Linked DNA regions of Homo sapiens: regions 1 and 2 are each linked to region 3. Evidence: promoter capture Hi-C in 16 types of primary human blood cells and fetal thymus (Javierre and others, 2016). All regions are on one chromosome and are shown on one strand. Each heading gives the region's core, a stretch centred on a gene start or on the middle of the fragment in contact. The rest is flanking DNA. Distances are from core to core; before and after follow the strand shown.

Region 1 (4,274 bases), core at 1,445-3,944, 600 kb after region 3:
TTAGAAGGCTGAAGAAACAGACTCTATATTGGGCTTCTGGGCATGGCTTCCATATTAACACCACAGAAGTGGACCCCAAGGGAACTCTTGGTCTGCCACAATCAGAAAACTTGGGAATCAGGAAGCCACTACCAGACATGTTGGCCCCAGGACCATACAGTATACCTGGCAGACCTACACAAAGAAAAAGCATTTAACTTTTCCCCCTCTACTTCTCTCTCCACTCAACTCATGACTCACAGAGTGCATCTGATTGGAAAAACCTAAGCTATGGCTGTAGGGGAATCTGGAAAAGGGTAGATTTTAGATTACCAGCCTCTTGAGTATAGGAAAGCTCATCAGAAGGATGTTGAAACAGATAGGAGTGAGTCAGTCTTCCATATCTGCCACATTCACTACCCCGCCCCCACAAAAGAAAACTTTAGGTCAGTAAGAGACCTGTCTTGAGCCCCATGATTCCAATTCCAAAATCGGAATTGGCTCATAGACCCAGAGAACTCTGAATGAAGGGGAGGCTTTGAGGAAGGGCCCTGCAGTAACATCACAAGCATGCACTATACGTCCACTGAGAGCCACCCTATGCTCAATAAAATCTTCTGCATTCATCACCTTTCAAACAGTTCATGTGACCTGATTCTTCCTGGACACCAGACAAGAACCTGGGTGTCCAGAAGGCAGGGGTTGCCACCCTGACCTTCCCATAGGAATCTGTGGGTATTTACAAGAATAGCTGACTCCTGAGGGAAGGAAAATACCCAGGCCTTTAGGGATGATTGGACGCTGGCTCCAAACCAATTCTAATCTCTGAAAATGCAGAGCAATACTGTGGTTCCCCAGTTAGAATGGAAGCTCATGTGAGTGTAGGTTGTATCTGTCATCTTGTCACTATTCTTTTCCAGGGAGATCTAAAAACTACATTTACCAGCCTCCCTTGCCACTAAGATGAGCTGAGCAATTTAGGTTCTACTAGTCAGACGCACCCATGTGGACTTGGTTTAGAAGGGAAGTAGGTGAGGAAATGAGGTTCACCTGGGACATCCAGCTTACTGGTATGGACAGCAGAAGCAGCGTGGCTCTGCAACTCCAGCTGAGTCCAGAATTAGTGCAGAATGGACTCAGAAGGCTCCAATCTGACTTGGTGGTTTCATGGTCTTGGCAGAGGCAACAACTCCTTTGGCAGATCCACTCTGCTTTGTCATTTGGAGGGTTCTGGAAAAATCACCCTAGATTCTGTTTCTCCAGCCCTCCTAATGATTCTCTAAGGTATCTAGAGCTCTTGAAAATCCCTTACTTGTTAAAATAGGCAAAGTAGTTTCTGGTAGTTGCAATTGAGAATCTAACCAATATAGAGATCAGATGACAAATGGAGTTTTAGCCCAAGTTTGCTTCTCATGAGCCCAGTGGTATCCCAGACCAATCCTGTGGTTATTTCCCAGTGTCTGGAGTGGACTAGACATAGTCAGTAAAAGGATCCTGATCCTTACCAGTAAGGATTACGTGGTTTAGAAAAAGGACCAGCAACACTACATCTCTAAGGGAATGACAGAGATTAGTGCCACATGAAAGATTTGATGGGCCAGGAGTGGTGGCTCATGCCTGTAATCCCTGCACTTTGGAAGGGCAAGATGGGGAGAGAACACAGGAATGTAAGATCAGCCCTGGCAATAGAGTGAGATCCCTGTCTCTAGTTTAAAAAAAAAAAAAAAAAAAAAAAAAACCTCAAAAATTAGTCTGGCGTGGTGGCACACGCTTGTAGTCCCAGCTACTTGGGAGCCTGAGGTAGGAGGATTGCTTGAACCTGGGAGGTCAAGGCTTCAGTGAACTGTGATTGTACCACTGCCCACCGGCCTGGGCAACAGAGAGAGACCCTGTCTCAAAAAAAAAATGATAAATTTAGGGTTAACTTGCCTAGTTTTTCTGTGCAGAACATGAACAGATGTTAGAGAATAGCCATGAATTATTTTACAATTTATCACATGGTTGTTCCAACAGCAGTCGTTGATCCAGATTGTGTCCCTTTTCTAAAGCAGATCACCATTGACCCTGGCACCTGCTGTGGGAAATTCTTTTTTCTTTATCCCAATAAACAAAGAGTACCAGAATAAATATGCTTTCACCTGCAGAGAAAGCAACACGGTCATTCCCCTTATCCATGGTTTCGCTTTCCACAGCTTCAGTTACCTGTGGTCAACTGTCATCCAAAAATATTAAATGGAAAATTCCAGAAATAAACAATTTGTCAGTTTTGAAGTGTGCTGCCCTGAAGAGCATGATGAAATCTCACACTGCCCCACTCTGTCCAGCCCAGGACAGGAATCATCCCTTTGTCCAGCTCTCCATGCTCTATGCACCACCCACCCACTAGTCGTCGCTTAGTAGCTGTCTCAGTTGTCAGATCAACTGTTGCAGTATTGCCGTGCTTGTGTTCCCTTATTTTACTTAATTACGACCCCAAAGTGCAAGAGCAGTGATGCTGATAATTCAGATTTGCCAAAGGGAAGCCACAAAGTGCTTTTTTTTTTTTCTTAAAAGGAGTTTTGCTCTTGTTTCCCAGGCTGGAGCACAATGGCGTGATCTCGGTTTACCTCAACCTCTGCCTCCCGGGTTCAAGCGATTCTCCTGCCTCAGCCTCCCAAGTACCTGAGATTACAGGCATGCGCCACCATGCCTGGCTAATTTTGTATTTTTGGAAGAGACAGTGTTTCTCCATACTGGTCAGGCTGGTCTCAAACTCCTGACCTCAGGTGATCCTCCAGCCTTGGCCTCCCAAAGTGCTGGGATCACAGGCATGAGCCACCGCGCCCAGCCAGCAAAATGCTTTCTTTAAGAGAAAAGATGACAGTTCAAAACTTACTACGGAAAGAAAAAAACCATACGCTGAGGTTGCTAAGATCTACAGTATGATAAGATATTTTGAAAGAGAGAGACCACATTCAAATAATTTTTATTACAGTATATTGTTATAACGATTCTATTTTATTAGTTATTGTTGTTAATCTCTTGGTCTGCCTAATTTATAAAGTAAACTGTATCTTAAGTATGAATGTGTAGGAAAAAGCATAGTGTAGATAGATTTAGGTGCTATCCACAGTTTTGGGCATCCAGTCAGGATCTTTGAATGTATTCCCTGTGAAATAATGAGCAACTACTGGGCATCTTTTCCAGGATGTGCAGAGAATCAAACTTGGAGGGTATGCAAACAGAAAAATTCCCCAAATCACACTCAAGGATTGCTCTAGGAACACACCACTGCTGTCACTTCTGGCCACCAAAATTGAAGCTCAAACTATGGATGATGGGCACTGCATGTCTTTGCCAGAGCCGCTGCTATTGCTTCCTCAAAAAATCACATATCTCTGCCCAACCTTGTTCCTGCCATAAAAAATTCCACTCAGCACCTCCTTTAAATCAAAATCAAAGTCCTTCACTCCAATGGGGTGCCATGGTTAAAAAAAAAAAAAAAACGTCTTGTGCGGGCGCACCTGAGTGGCAGGGCTGTCAGGGGCCCATGCCCTAGATGCAGGTGAGCTCGGAAAAGCAAGTTTCTGACCTCTCCCTTGGGGAGCTTCACACTTAAGGTGGAGAATTTCCCAAATTGAGGTAGAGAAAAGATACATAAAATGGGCCAGGCCTTGTGGCTCACACCTGTAATCCCAGCACTTTGGGAGGCCGAGGCAAGTGGATCACCTGAGATCAAGAGTTCAAGACCAGTCTGGCCAACATGGTGAAACCCCCGTCTTTACTAAAAATACAAAAATTAGCTCAGCGTGGTGGCAGGTGCCTGTAGTTCCAGCTACTCAGGAGACTGAGGCAGAAAATCGCTTGAACCCGGGAGGTAGAGGTTGGATTGAGCTGAGATCGTGCCACTGCATTTCAGCCTGGACGACAGAGTGAGACTCCGTCTCAAAAAATAATAATAATAATAAATAAAATAAATAAAAAGATATGTAAAATGGTAGATGAGGAAGACAGCAGGTAGCAGAAAAAGAACCAGAGAAGAGTAAACAGTTGCATATTAACAGCGGAGCGCTAGAAAAGAGATCACAGACTCTCACTGCTCAGGTGTCTTGCTAGAGCCACCTTTGACCCAGAGACACTGATGACCTGCCTGCTCCCATATCCACAAATTCCAGGATCTTGAATCCCCCTGGGTTTCTGTGTCACTTCATTCCCTAAGTGTACTCTTACATAACCCCTCTGCCAGTGATTTGAGCCAGCCTGTGGCAATTTGTGTTTTCCAAAAATGACCACATCAATATATCCCATTGCATATG
Region 2 (4,429 bases), core at 1,334-3,833, 570 kb after region 3:
ACCTGTAGTACCAGCTACACAGGACGCTGGGGTGAGAGGATCACCTGAGCTTGGGAGGTGGAGGCTGTAGTGAGCCAAGATTGCGTCACTGCACTCCAGCCTGGGTGACAGAGTAAGACCCAGCTGGAAGGGAGGAAGAAAGGAAGGAAGGAAGGAAGGAAGGGAGGGAGGGAGGGAGGGAGGGAGGGAGGAAGGGAGGGAAGGAGGAGGGGAGGGAAAGAAGGAGGGAAGGAGGAAAGGAAGGAGGGAGGGTCAAAGATGAGAAATGTCAACAAAAGCTTTAAAGCTCAAAAATGGTAACACAGAAGATGAGAGAAAGCTGAGACCCAGGGTTTGGGGGATTAGGAAGGGGTCAACAGAGGAGAGAGCAGGAAGCCCGTGAGAGGCAAGCACATTCTCAACATACTCTAAAGAAGCTCAAGAATTGGGGCACCACAGACATGGAGAGGAAAAGTGGAAGAGGGACCGTAAGCAGGGCTGGCTGGAAGTTTCTGTCAACAGTACCAGGCCCCCTCCCAGACCCCTACCCAACTAAGGCAGCCAGGGGACCACCTCTCCCCAATTCAGGAGAAGACAGGAGATTTACTTTTCCTGATTAGACTGGCCTGCTCACAACGTTTGATGATGTCAAGTGTAGAGAAGCCATGAGTAAATGAACCTCCTCAAACACATTGGTGGGAGGTGGGTTGTAGTAACCACTTTGCAGAGCGATTTGACAATGTCATCATTTTTTTTAACATTCATGCACTTCTTGAGCCATCAGTTCCACTCTTCGTGTTCATCCGAAAGAAACCCTGGCCCGTGTATTGAGGAAGTCATATAAAAGGATGCCCTATGCAGCATTGTTTGCTACAGTGCAAAGACACAAACAATCACTAATGGCGGGGAGGCGTTCAGTAACTATGTAACATCCTGCTGTGGAGGACTAGAAATTAAATGGAATGAGTAATGACAATGAATAGTGACACTGAAAACCCTAAAGAACTAGTTATTGGGCCGGACATGGTGGCTCACGCCTGTAATCCCAGCACTTTGGGAGGCCAAGGTGGGTGGATCACCTGAGGTCAGGAGTTCGAGACCACCCTGGCCAACATGGTGAAACCCCGTCTCCACTAAAAGTACAAAAATTAGCCAGTCGTGGCGGCGGGTGCCTGTAATCTCAGCTACTCGGGAGGCTAAGGCAGGAGAATTGCTTGAACCCGGGAGGCAGAGCTTGCAGTGAGCTGAGATCGAGCCATTACACTCCAGCCTGGGTGACAAGAGTGAAACTCCATCTCAAAAGAAAAAAAAAAAAAAACTAGTTGTTGGGTACAGTAAATCTAGTTGGAGAGCAACACACTTAATATGATAAATTCATGTCAACATACATTCAAAAGATGACTTATTGCTAAGGTCCATATGAATATGTATGAATATATGCATAGGTAAGGAAGGAATCTGATTGAAGGATGGTAGCCAATAGGAACCTAAGCTTAATCTCTATGGTTTTAAGTTTTATAAGAATGTATTTAGTATTTCTTGTTAATTAAAGTAAATAATTTCTTAAGTAACACTAAACCACAGACATTTAGAACTAGCCAAATTTCATATAGTCAATACCCTCTTCCCCTCCCTGCACTCACCACTGACATCATTGTCTCTGCTCATCCACACCAACCCTAGCCTTGAATTGAGAAATGAGAGAGGAAGTTTTGGAAGAGGGAGAACTAGATGTGAGGAGAAAAGAGACCCTGGAAAGGGTTTCCATCCTCGTGCCCCCACCCCTGGGTCCGCCAGGCTAGTTTTACTTCTTTATGAAACAAGAAGGCAAAACGGACAAGAAGAACTTTGGAAGAGTCTGAGTACAGGGAGAGCTCCTTGCAGCCGATGACTTACACCTGAGGAAAGCCCTCCCACTCTGGTTCTCCAAGGATCCATCGTCTGGAAGCATCTGAAGTTGGCCCCCCTGGGTGTTCTCACAACAGACAACAAGGCTCTCCCAGGTGGTGGCGTGGATCTGTGGGGCTACAGCTGGTGGCAGAGCAGAGGGTATTCTATGCAAGACAGCAGCCACCTTGTGGGCACATGCGAGGCATTCCCCTGGGGACTTTCTGAAATAACTGGAAGATCTTTAGGGGGTGCTGGAGTGGGAGCCACCATGTGGGCCATCAGGCTAGAGCTATTGACCCAGTATTGAGGTATGCCTCAAACCAATCAATGTGATCAAGTATGTAGACACTGGGAATTATGTCTGCCTGGGGGCATTGAGAGCTATTTAATTACAGAGGCATGACCCTTGAGCAAGAAGCTGACAGACCAGTAGGTATTTCTCAGGCAGAAGAGTAAAGAGAATGGGGGCCTGGAAGAGATGAGTAACCGGGCCCAGCTTGGGAGACTACTGGCAATTCAATATGGTTGGGCCATGGCAGGAGGGGAGGGAAGGGGGTCGTTGAGGACAAGGTCAGCTGTGGGGGAGCTGTAAGCAAGACAATGGAAAGTCATTTTCATCAGGGATGGGATGTGGGTTTTGTGTGGCAAATGGGTTGATGTGTCAAGGGAAGCAGGGATGACCAGGGATAAAGAACCCAGTTTAGGGTGTTTTAAAATAGTCCATGCTAGAGATGAGAGGGTCTGAATCTAGCCATAGTGGTGGGCTAGAGAGTAAAGGACAGAGACAAGACCTGCTGTTATGACCTGATGACAAATGGGAGTGATGAAAGAGAGGGACCCTGCACAAAGCACTGCTGTGTGCCAGAGATGCTGGCCAAGTCCTGGACGGTCTCAGCTGAGCAAGATCCCTGCCACTACCATCCCCCAGCCCTGGGACCCATGCCGTCTCTTGGGGAGCCTTGCTCTTGCCCAGATGGGGAAGAATCCTATTCACTGTCTTGAAGGGCCCAGCAGCCAGGACAGGGCAGCGCCGGCCATGTCATGAGCAGCCCAAAGCCGCACTCGGGTCAGGAGGCTGATGCTCTCGGGACTTGAGCCTCCGCACAGCCCAGGTCTGGCCATTTCTGCTGCATCTCAATGGCTTCCTGAGACGTGGAAACCCAGGAAAGGGGGAGGGCAGGGCAAGTAAGCTAGGTCAGGATGGCCCCTGGTGTTCCTCTCCAAGTCCTCAGGGGAGGAAAAACCAGCCCGACCAGAACCAGGGCAGATGGTGTGGGTGGGGAGGGACAGCTGAGTCCTGCAAGGAATAGTCCCAGGTCCAGGGGCCAGCTTCCCCGAGGTGCCACATTCCACAGCCTGGGAAGACAGGGGCCTGCCTCCTCCTCACTCCCTCTCCCTGGAGGTGAGTACGTGAGCAGGCTCACGCTCACTCCACACAGGGAGGCCCCCCCACCGATCTTAGCCAGGGGTGTCTCTCTCAGCTTTTGTCCTGCCCTACTCAATTTGGGCCTCATTTGACGCCTCTGCCCCACTTCAAGCTGTGGCCCATTCCATCTGGACTGGGGCAAGGAGAGTGCCAGACACAGGACAGAGAGAAAGAAAATGTCCGGGTGCCTGCCCGGATTCCCAGCACCCAGGAGAGGGCACCTGGGTGCTTCCCTGCTGCCTTCTGGCTGACAAACTTCCCTCCCATCAGGATCCTGGTGGGCTGTGGTGGCGATGCTGCCTCCTTCAAGAACAGACTCTGGGCAGTCCCAGATGAGCAAGACCCCTCCACAGGCAAAATCTTTCCTTTCAAAACCCATCTGATCCCACGACTCCTGAGGGGAAGCTTCAGCTCTGTACTCCCCCTCACCTGGGAAGGTTCCCGTCCAGAAACTCAAATTGTCCTCCTCGGATGCAGGGGTCTTGGACACTGCAAGCATTTTCACTGAACACCCGCTGTATGCTGGAGGCCACCTCCACCCGGCGTTGGCCAGAGCATCCTCCCTGCCTACCTGCCCCCTCCCTTTACCTGGATGGCAGCCATGCCAGCTCCTCTCAGTTCCATTGGCATGGGTTTCTTCTCCCTGATATGTCCACCCTGACCCGCTCAGGCTGGGTCAGCATTCCCACCCCCACCCACTTGCCCAGCACTTACCACAGCTCTGTCTCCCCATCTAGACTTGGAGCTTCTGTATCTAGCCCCAGGGCTGACTCCAGCACTAGTAAACATTTAATGATTATTTGCCAGAACAGAGCCTTCTCCTGAAGCCCTTTTATTTTTTTTCATTTAACACCAATTATGGTCCACCTTCTGTGTGCCAGGCACCTTCTAGACTCTGGGCTTCAAGAGCAGGGCAGTCTAAAGCTGCCTGCCCTCCTGGGGCTTTCATCTGGGGTAGGGGGCAGAGTAGCAAAGCCAGGGAGGGGGTCAGCAGGGAAGGCCATTGAGGGGTGGTCAGGGAAGGCCTCTCTGAGGAGGTGACACATGAACAGAGACCTGAATGAGGCAAAGGAGCCCTCAGATCCCCAGGGAAGATTATTCCAAGCCAAGGGCACAGCAAAGCCAAAATCCCTA
Region 3 (4,228 bases), core at 1,726-4,225:
CTAGGGGGATCTACATTGCTGTTCTTTGAGATATGGGAATTTATTGTCCTTCCTCTGCCCCTAGTGGCAATGCAATGTAAGTGAAGAAAGCACTGGATTAGGGCTCAGAAAACATGTGTCCAAGTTTCGGTTTTGACTTGTGCTAGTTATGCTTACCTTTGGGTGAGTAACTTAGCCTCACTAAGCCACAGATTTCTCACCTTAAAGAGAGTAACAATATATTAGTCCTATCTATTTTACTGAACTATTGTGTAGGTAATCAAATGGGTTCACAAGTTAGAAACTATAGGTACTGTATACATGTGAGCAGTTATTAATCTTAATCATTCATTGAATTTGAAAGTCTTTTCTGGGCTTGTGCCAACATCATCTGGGGCAAGAGGGTTAGTAGACATGGGGACAATTTTGTTGAGGGCATCTCGGTCAGACTCAGGGTGAGCTCTGTCATTGATGACGGTGTTGGGTGGGCTTACTTGGCTCTCAAGTCATCTGCAGTCAGTTTGGTGTTGTCAATTTGCGAGACCAGTCTGGAATTCTCGGCCTTGGTACACAAGATCTAGAATTAAGAGATTGTACACACAAATGAAGCAAACACCAAGATTTCCTTCTTTAAGAACCAAGGGGTTTGTGTGTGTGTCAAGTAACAGGGGAAGGCTAAGTAGACTTTTTATTAATCTTCATAGCTATGCTCACAAAGCTTGGAAAACTTCAGAAAGTCAGATTTCCTGTTATTTTCCTAAAAGATCAGCAAAAAGTACTTAACTAGAAACTTTTAAGTATTTTTTTTGTTGTTGTTGTTAAAAAATCCAGGCTGAGAGCAGTGGCTCACCCATGTAATATCAGCACTTGGGAGGCTGAGGCGGGCGGATCACGAGGTCAAGAGATCAAGACCATCCTGGCCAACATGGTGAAACCCTGTCTCTACTAAAAAATACAAAAATTGGCCGGGCGCAGTGGCTCACGCCTGTAATCCCAGCACTTTGGGAGGCCGAGGCGGGTAGATCACGAGGTCAGGAGATCAAGACCATCCTGGCTAACACGGTGAAACCCCGTCTCTACTAAAAATATAAAAAAAAAAAAAATTAGCTGGGCGTGGTGGCGGGCGCCTGTAGTCCCAGCTACTTGGGAGGCTGAGGCAGGAGAATGGCATGAACCCAGGAAGCGGAGCTAGCAGTGAGCCGAGATCGCGCCACTGCACTGCAGCCTGGGAGACAGAGCGAGACTCCGTCTCAAAAAAAAAAAAAAATACAAAAATTATCTGGGTGTGGTGGTGCGTGCCTGTAGACCCAGCTACTAGAGAGGCAGAGGAGGGAGAATCGCTTGAACCTGGGAGCTGGAGGTTGCAGTGAGCAGAGATCGCGCCATTGCACTCCAGCCTGGTGACAGAGTGAGACTCCATCTCAATAAATACATAAATAAATAAATAAAAAATAAAATAAAATCCATCCTAAATTTATATAAATACCATGATCCACTAGAATGTCAACTCCATGAGGGCAGGGACTTTTTAAAGGTCACCAATATTTTCCCAGAATCTAGAACAATGTTTGGCCCAATGTTGTTGCTGCTCAGTAAACATTTGTTGAATGAATAAAACTGAATAAATCCAGATATGTAGTAGCAGAATACGTCTGTGCATAACAAACTTAGGTTTGGTGTAGAAACAAACCAAGCAATGTGGAGATGATAACATAAGCATAAAAGGAGAAAAAGGTGGTGATGGTTGAAAAATGGATAAAAACTAAATTGCTTAGAAACTCATTAAAGCAAAATTTATTTTCTCTGATCTCTGTTTCCCTATTTTTATTTAAAAAATGGCAACAACTTGCTGTTAACATCTTTTGGTCCTGAGTCATCTAGTTATAATGGTAGAGTGTATTTCTGGAGAAAGGAAACACCATGAGACTCTTCTTTTTGTTTCTGATTTTTAAAGACATAGTCTCACTTTTGTCTGGGCTGGAGTGCAGTGGCAGGATCTTGGCTCATGGCAGCCTCAACCTCTTGGGCTCAAGTGATCCTCCCACCTCAGCCTCCCAAGTAGCTGGGACCACAGGCATGTGCCACCACGCCCATCTAATTTTTTTTTGTGTGTGTATGTGTGTGTGTGTGTGTGTGTGTGTAAGGATGGAATTTCATCATGTTGCCCAGGATGGTCTAGAACTCCTGGGCTCAAGTGATCTGTCTGCCTCAGCCTCCCAAAGTGTTAGGATTACAGGTGTGCATCACTGCGCCTGACCAGAAATACTATCAGACTCTGAATGCTGCCTCAAGATGACAATTTCACTCAAGAAATTTTTCTATTCTTCAAAAAAATTTTCAGCATCAACTGAACAAAAAATATTAAAGTTTAGCAAATAACTGTTGCTTGGAAACCATTAATTCACAACACGATTAAACAGGTTCTTAGGAATCTTACCTTCTGCTGGAGCTCCTCAATGGTAGTGTAGTAAGACAGGTAATCAGGACATAGAACAGGGAGCTCTTTGTTACTTTCTTCCTGGATTTTAGATTCCAGTTCAGCATTCTCTCGTTCTAGCATTCGCACCTTTTGCAGGTAGTTAGCAAGGCGCTCGTTCAAGATTTGCATGGTCTCCTTCTCATTACTGTTGATGCCTTCACCATACCAGCTGCAGTCATCCAGAGAAAAACGGGCATTGAAGTTGTTCATTAGGTAGATGGGCTTGCGACAAAAGCGAGGAGTGGGTTGGCAGCCCTGGTCCCAGGGAATTCTGAGAACGTGGCCAGCTGGTTGACAGTTGTTGACTGTAAGGCCACCAGGATGGCAGCCGTTGTTAGAAGAGATGGTACTAACATTTGTAATCCTAGAGCAGTTTTGACATGGGGTTGAAGGAGAATTGGTTGTTGTACAGCCCTTGGTGTCCATAGTATGTGTCTGGCTTTAGTTTGTTCCAGGTCTGTGGTCACCAGGATGAAAAGCTCAAGCCACCTCCACAGAGTCTGAATTCCAAGGCTCTTGGTGTTTTCCTCTTTGAAGTGCTTATATAGCCTCTCTTCTACGTGGTGTCACACAGGTGGGATGTTTTCCTTTCTCAGGTTTATATCAAATCCTGTAGGAACATCTTATTAGTCTGCTTTTTACTTGCTTAAGAAGAGTTATTTGTCTCATAAACATGTGCATTTAGGCTGTTAGTAAGTTATTACCCATCATAACTACTACTTGTCTATTGGACCCAGAGCTTCAAATTATGTCTTCAAAAGGAACTGTCCTAACAGCATCCATTATTAAGCAGGTGTGAGTATACTAAGTTCATTACATTCTTGTTGACCTCTCCACTTGGCACTGAGCTTAACCAGGAATGAGTTCATCCTTCTTTTCCTTTCTTCTCTAGAAAAGGGAAACTATTAATGTTTAATAATTATTGGTAAACTTAGAAATCAGAAGTCAATATTTTAGTTTGTTCTGCCCAAATGGTTTCCCCATTTTCAGTGTCAGGACAATGTGAGTATGAATTAAAATGTTAGTCTTTTAAAAGTCTTGTTTTAAAGATAATTGCTAGATTTATGTTTTAGCTTTCCATAAAATGTAATAACATAAAATAAAATATAAATAAAATATGAAATAAAATAAAAGCCATGGGGAAAAGGTAGGGTTTGATTGCTAATAAGAAATTTCTTGGAAAAGAGACTAGCTCTCTTTTGGTTTTCCAAAGTCCACATTTTATAACATTTTTAGTGCTTGGTGTTTGCTTGTGGTATTACATTAGATAAAAATGTATCACAGTGTTGGTTTATACTGGATGTTTAAATAGGATTCATTGAAAGGGGTGTGTTTTCTTTCTGAGGAATACTTACTCAGCATTTTCTTCAGAAAGTTACTTGCTGCTAATCCTTTATGGAGGCTCTAGGGGAACATCATTTTCTTGCCTTTTCCAGCTTCTACAGGCTGTCCACATCCTCAGCTAGTGGCCCCTTTTCATCCTTTTTTTTTTTTCTTGAATTATGAGATTTTTTGTACTTTGAGTTCTGGGATACATGTGCAGAACGTGCAGGTTTGCTACATAGGTATACAAGTGCCATGGTGGTTTGCTGTACCCATCAACCTGTCATCTACATTAGGTATTTCTCCTAATGCTATCCCACCCCTAGCCCCTCACCCCCTCACAGTCCCCGGTGTGATGTTCCCCTCCCTGTGTCCATGTGTGCTCATTGTTCAACTCCCACTTATGAGTGAGAACATGCAGTGTTTGGTTTTCTGTTCCTGTGTGAG

Evidence for each region. The method cuts DNA at HindIII sites, captures the fragments that hold promoters and counts their contacts. A CHiCAGO score of 5 or more calls a contact.
Region 1: a contact is called between a fragment that was not itself captured here and the fragment with the promoter of KRT39 in region 3, in 1 of 17 cell types (total CD4 T cells). The highest score is 5.6, in total CD4 T cells.
Region 2: a contact is called between a fragment that was not itself captured here and the fragment with the promoter of KRT39 in region 3, in 4 of 17 cell types (total CD8 T cells, naive CD8 T cells, activated CD4 T cells and 1 more). The highest score is 7.6, in total CD8 T cells.

What each region holds. Positions count from the first base shown.
Region 1 is chr17:41,559,422-41,563,695 of GRCh38, forward strand. No RefSeq gene overlaps it. Among named protein-coding and RNA genes, the nearest start is that of LINC00974, 7.1 kb to the left of the region's middle. The HindIII fragment of the contact is 7,476 bases long and covers 1-4,274 here.
Region 2 is chr17:41,533,089-41,537,517 of GRCh38, forward strand. No RefSeq gene overlaps it. Among named protein-coding and RNA genes, the nearest start is that of KRT19, 7.0 kb to the left of the region's middle. The HindIII fragment of the contact is 2,229 bases long and covers 1,470-3,698 here.
Region 3 is chr17:40,963,973-40,968,200 of GRCh38, forward strand. It overlaps KRT39 (keratin 39), which reads right to left and starts at 2,976. Exons shown (of 7, transcript NM_213656.4): 1 at 2,417-2,976; 2 at 474-556. The coding sequence starts at 2,884. The region is part of intron 1 of LOC107985072 (a long non-coding RNA gene); the gene reads left to right. The HindIII fragment of the contact is 5,044 bases long and covers 696-4,228 here.